Regions from separate parts of the Homo sapiens genome. Here region 1 is linked to region 2. Evidence: promoter capture Hi-C in 16 types of primary human blood cells and fetal thymus (Javierre and others, 2016). All regions are on one chromosome and are shown on one strand. The core of a region is centred on a gene start or on the middle of the fragment in contact, and the rest is flanking DNA. Distances in the headings are between cores, read along the strand shown.

What was found. Contacts are between HindIII fragments. The CHiCAGO score rates a contact against its expected background, and 5 or more counts as called.
Region 1: a contact is called between a fragment that was not itself captured here and the fragment with the promoter of RERE in region 2, in 1 of 17 cell types (naive B cells). The highest score is 6.7, in naive B cells.

Annotation. Positions count from the first base shown.
Region 1 is chr1:8,006,676-8,013,259 of GRCh38, forward strand. ERRFI1 (ERBB receptor feedback inhibitor 1) reads right to left here. Exons shown (of 4, transcript NM_018948.4): 4 at 5,052-6,584. The coding sequence ends at 6,535. LOC124903834 (a long non-coding RNA gene) reads left to right here. Exons shown (of 2, transcript XR_007065451.1): 2 at 1-58. Among named protein-coding and RNA genes, the nearest start is that of ERRFI1, 16 kb to the right of the region's middle. RefSeq lists a silencer at 2,954-3,248. The HindIII fragment of the contact is 5,423 bases long and covers 1-5,216 here.
Region 2 is chr1:8,816,357-8,823,623 of GRCh38, forward strand. It overlaps RERE (arginine-glutamic acid dipeptide repeats), which reads right to left and starts at 1,284. Exons shown (of 23, transcript NM_001042681.2): 1 at 804-1,284. RefSeq lists silencers at 882-941, 1,192-1,491, 1,592-1,821, 5,584-5,807 and an enhancer at 1,234-1,528. The HindIII fragment of the contact is 6,239 bases long and covers 1-3,817 here.

The sequences.
Region 1 (6,584 bases), core at 1,255-3,754, 810 kb before region 2:
ACCCAATTCTACTCTCCTCTCCTCCTTTCTCCGAATAAAACCCAATACTCCTCTTTAACAAGTTGTATGATTCACATGCCGAGAGGAAAAGGGCCAGGTTGTTTGTCAATTGATCTAGTCTAAAGAAAACAAGTCCTTGACTGTATTTTAGTTTGAACAAAACTTATTTTCCTAAGGATAAGAATACCTCGAAACTCTAGTACTAAGTTAGAAATTCACACTATGCCTCCTGGCTTGTCACGCACTTCCAATTTGAAAATATGGAACCTCAAGGCTGTAGATATTTGAGGCCCTTAAGAGAAAAACAATTCATGTTTTTTTGTGTGTGTGTTTTTTTTTTTTTTTTGAGACAGAGTCTGGCTCTGTCGCCCAGGCTGTAGTGCAGTGGTGTGATCTCGGCTCAGTGCAACCTCCACCTCCTGGGTTCAAGCAGTTCTCCCTCCTCAGCCTCCCGAGTAGCTGGGACTACAGGCACACGCCACCATGCCTGGCTAATTTTTGTATTTTTAGTAGAGATGGGGGTTTCACTATGCTGGCCAGGCTGGTCTCGAACTCCTGACCTCGTGATCTGCCCGCCTCAGCCTCCCAAAGTGCTGGGATTACAGACGTGAGCCACCGTGCCCGGCCATGAATTCTTAAAAGTGTAAAGGACTGTTTTTATTAGAGCAAATGCAAATTAACCTTGCAGGAAACCATGGCAGATCAAAGTTAACATGCCTTAATTTTATCTTTTCAATGACAATGGCCATAATGCATTATTTACATGACTCTCTCTCTCTCTCTCTCTCTCTCTCTCTCTCTCTCTCTATATATATATATATATTTTTTTTTATTTTTTTATTTTTTGAGACAGAGTTTTGCTCTTGTTGCCCAGGCTGGAGTGCAATGGTGCGATCTCAGCTCACCGCAACCTCCGCCTCCCAGGCTAAGTGATTCTCCTGCCTCAGCCTCCCAAGTAGCTGGGATTAATAGGCTCGTGCCACCACACCCAGCTAATTTTGTATTTTTAGTAGAGATGGGGTTTCTCCACATTGGCCAGGCTGGTCTCAAGCTCCCAACCTCAGGTGATCCGCCCGCCTCGGCCTCCCAAAGTGCTGGGATTACAGGCGTGAGCCACCATGCCCAGCCTGACAACATATTTTTAGAGTTTTATTAGCTTTTTACAAAATGCCAGAAGGCCAAAATTAATTTCTAAATTAATTTGAAAAAGTAGCACCTAAGTTCATTTTGATAGTAACTACTTCCAGATAAAATCCTACATGAGTATTGTGCCAATGTCAGTTTCCTGATTTTGATAAATTCTATGTCATCACTGGGGGAATCTGGGTAATGGGCATAGGGGATCTATTTTGCAACTTCTTTTGAGTGTATAATTACATCAAGATGAAAAGTTAAAAAAAAACTATATAAGAAATACAAAACTGTGCTAGGAGCTTTACTTATTTTTAAGAGAAAAGCTCCAGTATATCCTAAAACTATTAATTATGTGATGAAATTAAGAACCAAAATAGAGACTAGCTTAAAATACATGTTGATTCTTGAACCAGTAGATATATGAATATGGCTTTTCTCTAGTCAACTGTGAATTGCTCTGGAAGATGAAACTCTATGGCCTTTTATTTTATTTTTTAGGGTCCCTAATAGTGAAGAAGCATCCTCTTTTTTTTTGAGACGGAGTTTCACTGTTGTTGTCCAGGCTGGAGTGCAGTGGCTTAATCTCAGCTCACTGCAAATCTCCGCCTCCCGGGTTTTAGTGATTCTCCTGCCTCAGCCTCCCAAGTGGCTGGGATTACAGGCATGAGCCACCACGCCCAGCTAATTTTTTTGTATTTAGTAGAGATGGGGTTTCACCATGTTGGTCAGGCTGGTCTTGAACTCCTGACCTTAGGTGATCCACCCGCCCTGGCCTACCAAAGTGCTGGGATTACAGGCGTGAGCCACCGCACCCAGCCAAGAAACATCCTCTTAAAGAGAGTTCTTACTTTTCACAGCATAGTTAAGACATCTCTTGAGACCTAGAGATGGATAAGCAACAAACAGTATTAAACTTCCATTAGTGTGTTTTTGGAATTTATTAAAAACAAGAGGATACACATCACATACTTGACTGTTGCAGCATAAGAACTGACAAAATTGGCTGGGCGCAGTGGCCCACGCCTATAATCCCAGCACTCTGGGAGGCTGAGGTGGGTGGATCACCTAAGGTTAGGAGTTCGAGACCAGCCTGGCCAACATGGTGAAACCCCGTCTGTACTAAAAATACAAAAATTAGCCGGGCGTGGTGGCAGGTGCCTGTAATCCCAGTTGATCGGAAGGCTGAGGCAGGAGAATCGCTAGAACCCTGGAGGCAGAGGTTGCAGTGAGCCCAGATGGTGCCACTGCACTCCAGCCTGGGTGACGAAGACTTTGCCTCAAAACAAAAAAACAAAAAACTGACATTTACTATTAACCCAAATTTTGAATTCACTTGTAAGAGAGCCCCCTTATCCTCGGCTTCTGTTTGCTGCCACGAAATGGTATCTACTAACCAGTCCCTTAGGTGTGCATAGCACTACAGTGCGCTCTGGCATGGCCTCACATATACTGACAAGGAACTTAAAGCTCAGGGAAGTGAAGTGAATCCTTCCTATAGAAAGTGGGAGGTCAGCCAGGCGTGGTGGCTCACACCTGTAATCCCAGCACCTTGGGAGGCCGAGGCAGGCGGATCACCTGAGATTGGGAGTTCAAGACCAGCCTGACCAACATGGAGAAACCCTATCTCTACTAAAAAAATGCAAAATTAGCCAGGCGTGGTGGCGCCTGCCTATAATCCCAGCTACTTGAGAGGCTGAGGCAGGGAGAATCGCTTGAACCCGGGAGACGGAGGTTGCGGTGAGCCAAGATTGGTGCTACTGCACTCTAGCCTGGAGCCTGGGGTGACAAGAGCAAGAAGACTCTGTGTCTAAAAAAAAAAAGGGAGAAGTCAAGACAGGAACCTGGGTTTTAGGCCAGTACTTTGTTGTGTGACATAACCATCTTTGAGAACTCAACAGTGCATAAAGTGGCAGCTAACACGCAGCTGATTTCCTATTGGCATCTTACTTAGCAACAGAGAAGAGTGTCAGAAGTCCCGGGCTTGACCTATGCCACGAGAACTCTTTAGAATTAACTTGCTTTGTGTGCTGGTTGAGGAATAAGTTGACAGGCAGAAGGTGCTAGGGGATGTGTTCCGGTGGTAGTGTGGCATTGGCATGGCGGCTAGGCACATTTGCTTAGCCAGGAAAAATCAGGGAAAAGGTATATGCTTGCAAACACAAGTAAAAATACAAAGGTAAGATGGAAAGCAAACAGAACTAATGAAACATATTCTTGACCATATGACCAAGAAAAGGTAGTGGAGGGGAGGGGAGAGGCAAAAAGTCTCAGAAGCAGACAAAGTTCTGCAAGTGCTGCATTCAGACATCCAGTCAGCAGGGACTTACTGCACCCCTGGGTCAGGCAGTGCGTCATGACAGTGCACAGGAAGCTGAGTCCCTGCGCTTGGGGAGCTGTCCCTCTTTGGCCAGGGTGCCGCGCACACGGGCCTGCGTGATCTGGAACTTAACTGTTTCTACTACTCCCAGGTATCTTTTACTGTTTTTCTCCATCTCCACTGGCCAAGGCAGTCTTGTCTCAGTTCAGGACTACAGTAGCCTCTGTCCATTAAGTCTTCCCGTTTCCTTTTGCTTCTCTCCGATCTGTCCTCCACACAACAGCCACTGTCCTCTTAAATCACATCACCTTCCTCTCCTGCTTAGGATCTTTCAGTGGCACCCACTACACTTTTCCAGGCCCCTCCTCCTCCTGACAGCCACTTTCTGGAAGCTGCTCAGCTGTTTCCTACTTCAGGGTCTCACACATTGTCTGCTTCCTCCACTGGTAACATGCCTACCTGTTCACTCCCCTCCCTCAGCTTCCATTCTAACCCTTCAGAGCTTAACACCTCACAGGTCCCATTATCAGTCCTCATTGCTCCCATTGTTCATTACCTTTTTATTTAGCACTTAATATAAGATGTAATCATAATTAACATTATCTGCTTTAAATTCCATAAGGGAAGGGGATGTGTTTTCGCAGGATCCAGCATGGGGCTGGGATTTAACAAATGTCTGTTGACTGAACGTCCCAAGCCTGCATCTTCATCTGTAAAATGCCATAAATGACACCCAGCCTTTAGATGACAAAAACAGTTCTCATGTATGGGGCCCTCACTATGTACCAGATAATATAGTTTATATGCAGTTGTCACAAAATAATTCCCACCTCTCTGCCCATTTTACCAATGAGAAAACTGAGCTACAGGGATTTAAAATAATCTGCCTCACACAGAATTAGAAAGGGATGAAGTTGCAACTTCAACCCAGATAATTTGAGCCCTCACTCTTCACTCTGGAGAGTGGCAAGACAGTGCAGGTGCCCGATGAAGGTCGTGGAGGGCTCCCACCCTCTCCCAGGGGACAAAGGAGCCTGCAGAGGACAGTGAAGAGAACCAGGCACAGGGCTAGGTGACATGGGACTAAGCCCCCTCACAAAGAGCACTCCAGCCCCTGCCTCCATCCAAAGGCTGCCAGGAGCCCATTTGTCCACTGTGGACTTGCCATCTCCATGACAGGCCAAGGCAGGTGCAGATTCCTTGGGTGGCCTTAAGCAAGAAGCAAAGCCTGCCAAAGGGCCCAGAGTAACCGGGACCTCGTCCTAAAAATCAGAATGAGTCAAACCAAGTCTACACATCAGAACTGGTTTCTTCTGTCACGTTCTCCTTGATGTGGACTCCCACCCCCAACGTTGTTTCTGATAGTAACCCCAGAATCCAGTTCTCTTTCAGTTGTTAAAGGTAAAAACAAACAGCTCATTTCCACTGTATACTTTCATAATATGTGAAAAAGATTGCACAAATTATGTTTCATTCTAAAGAATAAGAGTTTCAAGAATACATTAAACTTCAAAGAATCTTCGCTTGTGCTTAAAAATAATGCTGTCAAATTGCTTCATACACTTTATAAGACTTTAGGCAAGAAACATTACTAATGGTATCATAAATAAGTATTATAACTTTATTAAAATGAAAAGACAATATTCAAAATAATGCAACAAAATGAATAAAATCCTTTGTCCAATACTGTACACATAATGCAGAAATCAGTGCATTTTTCTTAAGCATGTTTTAACCTTCATTTAGTTCATACTAAAATATAATAAGCTTTAAATAGCTCAAATAATATTCAGCAGTTTAAACTGTAAACAGCTTGTTTAACTGTTAAGAGAACATTGCAGTAATGTACCTCTGTTAGTGAGCACCTTCTCTTCTGTGCTTATCTCTTCAAGATAAATACATGGAAGGATGTGAAAATCGGAACACCAACTATGTGTCTCACTGCATCTAAGTGAAGCAGCCACAGCTGTGAGAGTTTTCAAAGCAGAAAGATGCTGATGTGACCTCTGGAATTCAGACATACTGAGCTATGGGTCAGAAGTGTTTTACTTAAAAAGCAAACAATCCCCAGGAAATACTGAATAGGAACCAGCAACACAAGGCCAGCTTGTGTTGTATGTTTATTAATACAGTCTAAAAAAAAAAAGCAAAACCACAACACACATCCCCAAACAATAACTCTCAATCACATAGCTAATTGCTTCATTATTTTGTAAAACTGACATCCTAACACTGGCACCTAGAATACTTTTCCATCTGAGTCTAACGTACCCCACTGCCTCTAATACGGCCCGCACTACGATGAGCTACTTCAGTGGGTGGGACCAAGCAGGAACTGTAAGGGAAAATTAGTCACTAGTTCTATTATCGTTTTATTTTTCAAGATGTGTGACAGGTACAGGTGACAATATGGTTGCCAAGTAACCTGCTCTCCCTCCCTCAACAAGACGCAACATGAAACCTGGAAGTATGAGGCCTTGGTATGATTTTTAACCTAAGCAGGTACACCCATGGTAAAGAATGGATACCCTGCCCTCCATGGAAAAGATTGCCTGCAAAAATAAATGGAACAAAATAGAAAAGGCCTAAAAGCCAGAAATCTTCAAACTTACTAAACAAAAATATTTTTTAATGATTCTGATCTAAACAATACTGTATCTTCTTCCATTTGCTCAATTTTCAGTCTATCAGGACTCATTTCTCCAGCTTGAGTTTATTATTCTGAATATATATTACTCTACGATAGTAACTAATTGGTTAACCTGCAGCTATGGTCTATGGTTATACCACAAGTTTATATATAGGTATGTAATGTATGCATATATAAAAAGCTTCCCCATCCTCCCCTCCCCACCATCACATCTTTAAATTATAGACTTGTAAGACTTTTTTCCAACACTAACAAAGTCAGGGTTTCTCAGCATAACAGCATCTCACAACTGCTCTAAACCTTCCACATGAAGACAGAGAGTTCAACTATTTTATTTTGCAATCTAAGGGATTTTTCTCTGCACTTCAATCAAACTGGAAAATTGAGAACCATTTGCTCCTATGTAACCTCTGCTGAACCATGACCCCAAGGTCTAAGGAGAAACCACATAGGATAAATGTTTACGCTTCACGTGGCCACCCA
Region 2 (7,267 bases), core at 34-2,533:
CAAGGACCCATTTTACTTAAATCAATGTTTGAAGTCTGTAATCCAGAAAAATTGTAAGCAAACCTTGGAAAAGAGACAGAGGAAAATGACAATTCAACAATGAATCATTCTGTTTTCCTTTCAACAACTTCTCAAGCAACCAGTTTCAAAGGAAGCCTGCAACACTTTTCCCCCCTCCTAGCAGACACACATACACACGTGTATGTAAAACTACGAATCTTTCCATCATCTTAAAAATTAGTAATAAATAGAAGCCACCCTCCTTCAGAGAGCAGAACTAAAACAGGATAGTAAGAATTCTATTCTGCTGCAAGTGACTTTGGGTTTCATAATTTTCTAATCACATACAGCTGAGAACTAGAGATTGGGAGCACAAAGAGGAAATCTTCCCCCAATGAGAAAATGATACTTTAATAATAAAGTCCTCCCCCCAGCACCCCGAAATCCACAAACATTCAAGAAATTTACAGTTTCAGTCCTTGACTTCCTTCCCTTCCAGTTTCAGCCAATAATGTAGTCACATGAAATAGTTTAACCTCAAACAAGTAGAACAAGAGCATGAATAAGAGGCCAAGAGAGAGCAGGGGTCAGAAGGCACGCAGGAACGGTCACCTGGCCCGGACAGGACCAAAGAAGTGCCCTGCCCTCGCCCGACTCCCCTCGACTTCGGCTTCGACCCCAGCCTTTTCTTCCTGCCTCCCCCCGGGCGAGTGACTGCTTTCACGGCCGACCCTCTCTGACCACCAGGACGAGGGGCCAAAAAAGAAAGCACACGACCCGGCGCGGGCAAGTTGGACACTTACCTTCCCCTAAAGCGCTACACCATCAATAGTGAGGTGTTCGCGGCCCAGCTCCGGGGAAAGTGGCGGGGATGGGGCGGGAGGCCGCGCGGAGGCTGCGGGGCCGCGGGGCGCAGGGCCGAGAGGGGCGGCCCGCGGGGAGGCGACGCGGAGGGGCTGAGGGGGCTTCCCTGCCGTGACCTTTCCTGCGACTTGAACCTAGGCTCCCTCCTCCTCGGTCGGGCAGATCTTTCAGAAGCAGGAGCCCAGGATCATGTCTGGTTTTGTTTTCCGAGGGCGAGGGGGCTCCCTGAGGATGATGGTGATTTTTTTTTTTTTTTAATCCTCAACTAGGAGAGAAAATGAGGCAGAGACAATGTGGGGAGCGAGAGAGGGGAAAAGGACGGGGGAGGAGGCGGGGACCGAGGCCCAGCGGGGCGAGCGTCTCGGGGTGTGCGGGAGGCTGAGGAGGCTCCGGAGCGCGGAGGGTTGCTCGCGAGCGTCTGTGGGAACAGCGGCACCTCCGCGATGGTGGCGGAGCCGCGGCGGAGCTGCTGCACCGACCCGCCGCCCACTCCCCGCTCGGGCCCGGCCCACCTCGCAGTATCGCGCCCCTCCATTGGTACAGCGCGGTGTGACGCGGCCGGGGGCCCGGCCAATGGGAGGCGGAGGAGGCGGGATCTCTTTTTCCTTTTTTTTTTTTTTTTTTTTTTTTTTTTAATCTTTTTAATAAAATGAGCAGAGAAGAAGGCGGAGAGAGGCCGAGCCTTGACAACGCCGCGGCCCGGGGCTCGAGGGCTCGCGCTGCAGGCGGCGGCCAGAGGCGGTGGGCTGGGCTCCCGCCGCGGGCGCGTCTTTGTGAGAGTGCGAGGCCGGCCCTCCTCCGCCGCCCGCCGCGCTCCAGTACCGCCCCCCGCGCCCCCCGGGCTGGGCCGGGCTGGCGGCGCGGGCAGGTCCCGGGTGGGGTGGGGGGAAGTCCGGTTGATCTTGCTGTTACCCGGGTCTTAATTGGCCTTTTCAGTCATTAGGACGCGGATCCATGTTGCTGCGGGCTACAGAGTGGGTGTAAACCATTCTCATATGGACTCTTTCGAAATTCTGATGAGCGGCTTGTAATATTTTTCAAATAGTGTACATGACAAAAGATGAATTACAGAAAGAAAAATAAAAGTGATAAGTCGCACTGCTTATTTGAAAAGAATAAAAAGTGTCATGAAGGCATAAAGGAGAGACTGTACAGGTACAGAAGGGATTTTAGAAAGAGCAGTGTACAACTCTATAAGGTACGTGTGAAAAAAAATCTAAAAAGAGGAAAAGACCAAACATCACCTCTTTTTCTTTGAAGAATGAAGTATTGTGTCCCACTTCCCGAAAGCCTGATAATCACAGGGTCTATCATGCTGTAAAGGGAGTAGGGGCAGGCCAAATGATCATATTCTAGTTCATATAATTTATGGGATTGAGGGGTTTGGAAATTTCAATTATGATTAGCAGTTTTTGAAATGCACATCATGTTTATTGAGTTCTTTCACAGAGCCTGGCACGAATCCAGGGTGAATCATCAACCTATTGTTGGTTTGTTAATATTCTGTAAATGCTTATTGGTGTCCTTATACCATACACTCTTCCCGAAGGAGTTAAGGTCCGTATAAAATAAGGGGTAGAAAACGTAGCACAAAATAATTCACTCATCTGTTTCAAAAGAAGTGATAATTTTCTCCTTGGAAAATCTATTCAGATTATAATTTCCACATTGAATTATTCATTTTTTTTTTTTTTCTGAGAGGGAGTTTCACTCTTGTTGCCCAGGCTGGAGTGCAATGGCGCGATCTCGGCTCACCGCCACCTCCGCCTCCTCAGTTCAAGCGATTCTCCTGCCTCAGCTTCCCGAGTAGCTGAGATTACAGGCATGCGCCACCACACCCAGCTAATTTTGTATTTTTAGTAGAGATGGGGTTTCTCCATGTTGGTCAGGCTGGTCTCGAACTCCTGACCTCAGGTGATCCGCCCGCCTCAGCCTCCCAAAGTGCTGGAATTACAGGCGTGAGCCACCGCACCCGGCCCACATTCAATTATTCTTTAAAGAATAATTTGGACTAACAGATACTATTGGACCATGACCCAAGAGATCTTAAAAAAAAAAAAAAAAGCCATAGATCCTTGCCATCACATTTCTGAGTAACTTTCAGCAAGAAAAATCCTCTTTGCTGGAGTTATGAAATGGGGAAACTAGTTAATATCTCTTTATATATCTGATAATGTGAGAACTGAATTTTAAAACCTAATAAATTCAATAAACTGCTTCCAACATTCTAGATATGGATAGGACTATCTGACTTCCTGTTTGGAAATGATGAGGGATAAAGTATATCAGTTAGATGGCTTCACTTTCCATCAAAATCTCTATCTACAGGAGCATTCTTTCTTTTTTTTCTTTTTTTTTTTTTTGAGACAGAGTCTCGCTCTGTTGCCCAGGCTGGAGTGCAGTGGCACGATCTCAGCTCACTGCAACCTCCACCTCCTCGGTTGAAGCGATTCTCCTGCCTCAGCCTCCTGAGTAGCTGAAATTACAGGTGTGTGCCGCCACACCCAACTAACTTTTGTAATTTTAGTAGAGATGGAGGTTCACTATGTTGCCCAGGCTGGTCTCGAAACTTACAGGAGCATTATTTCTAATAAAGATTCAGCTCTGTGGTAGACAAATGGACAATGCACTGCCATCCAGCAGGGAGGAGAGAGGCTCTCCACGTTAGGAAATAACATTTACTATGGTATTAGGGATTGGCCGTCACTTTCATTTATCCATAAAAATGTAAATTTAGAAGTCCAGAAATGCCACATAGTTACAAAGCATAATATATGGTATCAGACCACAAAATTAGCAAACTAAACCCATTTAACTGTAACAGTCCCACGAAAGAATTGTGGTCCAGCCATAAAGCCGGAGAGTACTGGACCTCCTTCCAAGGATCTGAGAAGCTGATAATGCAGTAAAATAATCTTCATCGTTAAGAACAACTATTAAACTATTGATTGAAAGCTTATGTTCCCAGTGCCCTAAGAAACATGTTACATTCTTTAGCCCACTTTTTCTCCCCATGAAGTGTATTATTATTATCTCTTTTTTTTTTTTTTTTTTTTTTTGAGACAGTTTCGATCTTGTTGCCCAGGCTGGAGTGCAATGGCGCGATCTCAGATCACCGCAACCTCTGACCCCCGGGTTTAAGCGATTTTCCTGCCTCAGCCTCCTGAGCAGCTGGGATTACAGGCATGTGCCACCATGCCCAGCTAATTTTGTATTTTTAGTAGAGACAGGGTTTTTCCATGTTGGTCAGGCTGGTCTCGAACTCCCAACCTCAGATGATCCGCCCGCCTCAGCCTCCCAAAATGCTGGGATTACAGGCGTGAGCCACTGCTCCCGGCTTATTATCTCCATTTTAAAAGTCAAGGAACTGGGGCTTACGGAAGTTAAAGAACTAGCTGAAGATTAAAGACGTAAAATACCGACTTGGATTTTTTTCCCATATTAAATTTTTAAAAGTTTCCTTATTCTCTTTTCAGCAATATTTTTAAGTGGGAATTAAGTAAATAAAGTAGTTATTGAATCTGAAAATATCAAGGACTTTTTTTAGTTATTTTATGTATCTTACTACAGGTAAGAAGTGATTTTTTTTTAAATATACAGAGATCACATCAGAGCTGTATTAAAGGAAGATGGAAAATGGGGATTATTTAATAAATGATATTGGGACAACAAGATAGCTATATGGGGAAACAAAAAACAACAACACACACCCACTAGATTCATATTACTCCTAACACACCCCACCCCCAAAATCACAGGTGGATTTCTTTATTTTTTTAATTGAAATTTTTTTTTTTTGGAGCCCAGGAATTTGAGACTACTCTGAGCAACATAATGAGACCCCCATCTCTACAAAAAAATTTTAAAAATTAGCTGAGTGTGATGGCACATGCCTGTAGTCCAGGCTATTTGGGAAGCTGAGGTGGGAGGATGGCTTCAGCCTGGGAGGTTGAGGCTGCAGTGAGCTGTGATCATGCCACTGCATTCCAACCTGGTGACAAGAGTGAGACCCTGTCTCAAAGGAAAAAAAAAAAGGAAGTTAGCCCTTGCTTATACGTGTTGAAAATGTTTCTCCCCAGTCTGCCTGTTTCTTGCATTGCTATGGTGTTTTTATGCCTTATAGGGATGTGAAATATTTATGCAGTAAAATTTATTGGTGTTTTTTCCTTTATGGCGTCTGGATTTCCTGCCATGTTAGAAAGAGCTTCTTCAATCCATGATTTGAAAAAGTTTTAGTGTTCTTCTAATACTTTTGATTTCATTTTTTAAAATCATAAAAATTTGGCATAGACAAAAGAATATACATTATGTGTACATAGGTTGAGGGGGATAATAATAAAATAAACACCAGTAAACTCAACCTAAGAAATTGTGGTTTAGTGGTTTCACTTTTTTAATCATTTATTTTAATTTTTTTTAGAGACAAGGACTTTTTTCTTTTCATATCAAGCATGGATAATTCTTATAATTAAAAAAAACCATTCAAGTTCTTTGAACATACAGCTGGTAACTAGTCTTCATAATTCACCAGCAGTACTCAAGCTTTAGAACATGTAAATTATTTTCCCCTAAAATGCCTTAAGCAGAACTAGGGTGCTTTAGCAGGCCTTGTAGCAGACTGAAGCTTGTTTCTAGGCATTTTCTATGAAATTGGCTTCCAAGTTTATGTAGTGCAAATATAAGCCAATAACGAGCCTCAGCTATATCTCCCGTTGCACTTTTTCAGGTTGAGCCTCCAGCAGCACTTCTTTCTTCCCCACTGCCAGTTCTCCGAGCTCACCTTGCATTTACCCACAGCGGGTTTTCACTTTATAATTTATTGTAAATCGAAATTTCTCCCTCTCCAGTTTTTTCCCCTTGGGCCAGGTAAGTAACCCCTGGTAGCCTTTGAAAGTCCCTGCACTGAATTGGAACGGAGAAATGGTTGATGTTTCAGAGCACATGTGTGAGCAAATACAGAGAGAGGTGAAACAGCTTTTCAAAACAAAGGATCAAATATCAGAAACCCTTTTCCTTTGTTTGGCTGTGATTTATTGTGGATTAGCAATTAAGATTTCCAATTCTGGCCGGGCACAGTGGCTCATGCCTGTAATCCCAGCACTTTGGGAGGCCGAGGTGGGCAGATCACCTGAGGTCAGGAGTCTGAGACCAGCCTGACCAACATGGTGAAACCCCATCTCTACTAAAAATACAAAATTAGCCGGGCATGGTGGTGCATGCCTGTAATCCCAGCTACTCGGAAGGCTGAGCCAGGAGAATCACTTAAACCCAGAAGGTGGAGGTTGCAGTGAGCCGCGATGGCGCCATTGCACCCCAGGTTGGGCAACAAGAGCAAAACTCCATCTCAAAAAAAAAAAAGATTTCCAATTCAACTCTAGACCCTATTGAATTTTATTTCCACCAAGGTAGAAGTGGGCCTGATTACCAACACACTTACAGATAGATCTCAAGAAACCCTGCTTCACTGGGCCACGTCGGATTTATGGGAGGGATGCCCTTCCCTTTGAGTCGCACTTTGAGCCACAGCATGTTGTCTGGGGCACTAGGATGCCGTTTGGATGAGATCTAAACCCAACATCTGACTTCTGACCACTTGTGGTTATTAAAAGTCTCCTAGGGCTTGTGAAAGAATTAAAGGGAGGAGACGCTGATTTTCATTGTCTTGGCCCAATTCCAAGTTTGATAATTAGGAGTCCTCCTCCCTCTGTCTTCCTGCCATTTCACTGAGACATGCAATTCCACACTTCCTGTTATAAACAGCTGTCCACTGTTAACTGAGTGAGCCAGAGAGCCAGCAAATTCCACCCTAGGGGAAGCTGCATTTCAAAATAAACATTTCCTCCACATCTACTTGTAAATTACCTAGGTTTACCTTGGAGGAAAGGTGTTATTTTCTAGGGATAAGAAGGGCATAATAATGGGGAGTTGAGAACTATCCACAAACCCTAGTTTGTCTAAACACCAAACAAACAAGACTAACATTGATCACAAAGGGGCCCTCAGAAGAAATCTCCTCACTAAAGAAAATACATTTTAGATTCTAAAATTGTCTTTAGGGGGTCCAGAATTTAATTGTATAACATTGATGTGGCAGGTGCTATTAGCCACCAAAACTCACTTCTTCAATCCAAGGCATCTACACAAACAGAATAAAGAGGAAAAACTCTGTAACCCCGGAAAAAAAAAAAAAAAAAAAAAAAAAACAGAAAAATTCACCTCCGCCATCCACGCTCCGGTGTCGATGTGACACATGCCTGGACACTCATTTTAGTGCTTCCCTCCTCTTTGTTCAGCTTTTCCAGGCACCTTAATTTCAAAATATCCACATTCCCATTCCTTTCAATGCCAAATATCTCCTTCTACTACTCCAGTTTCCAGAATAAATTCTGCTATGGCTGGGCAC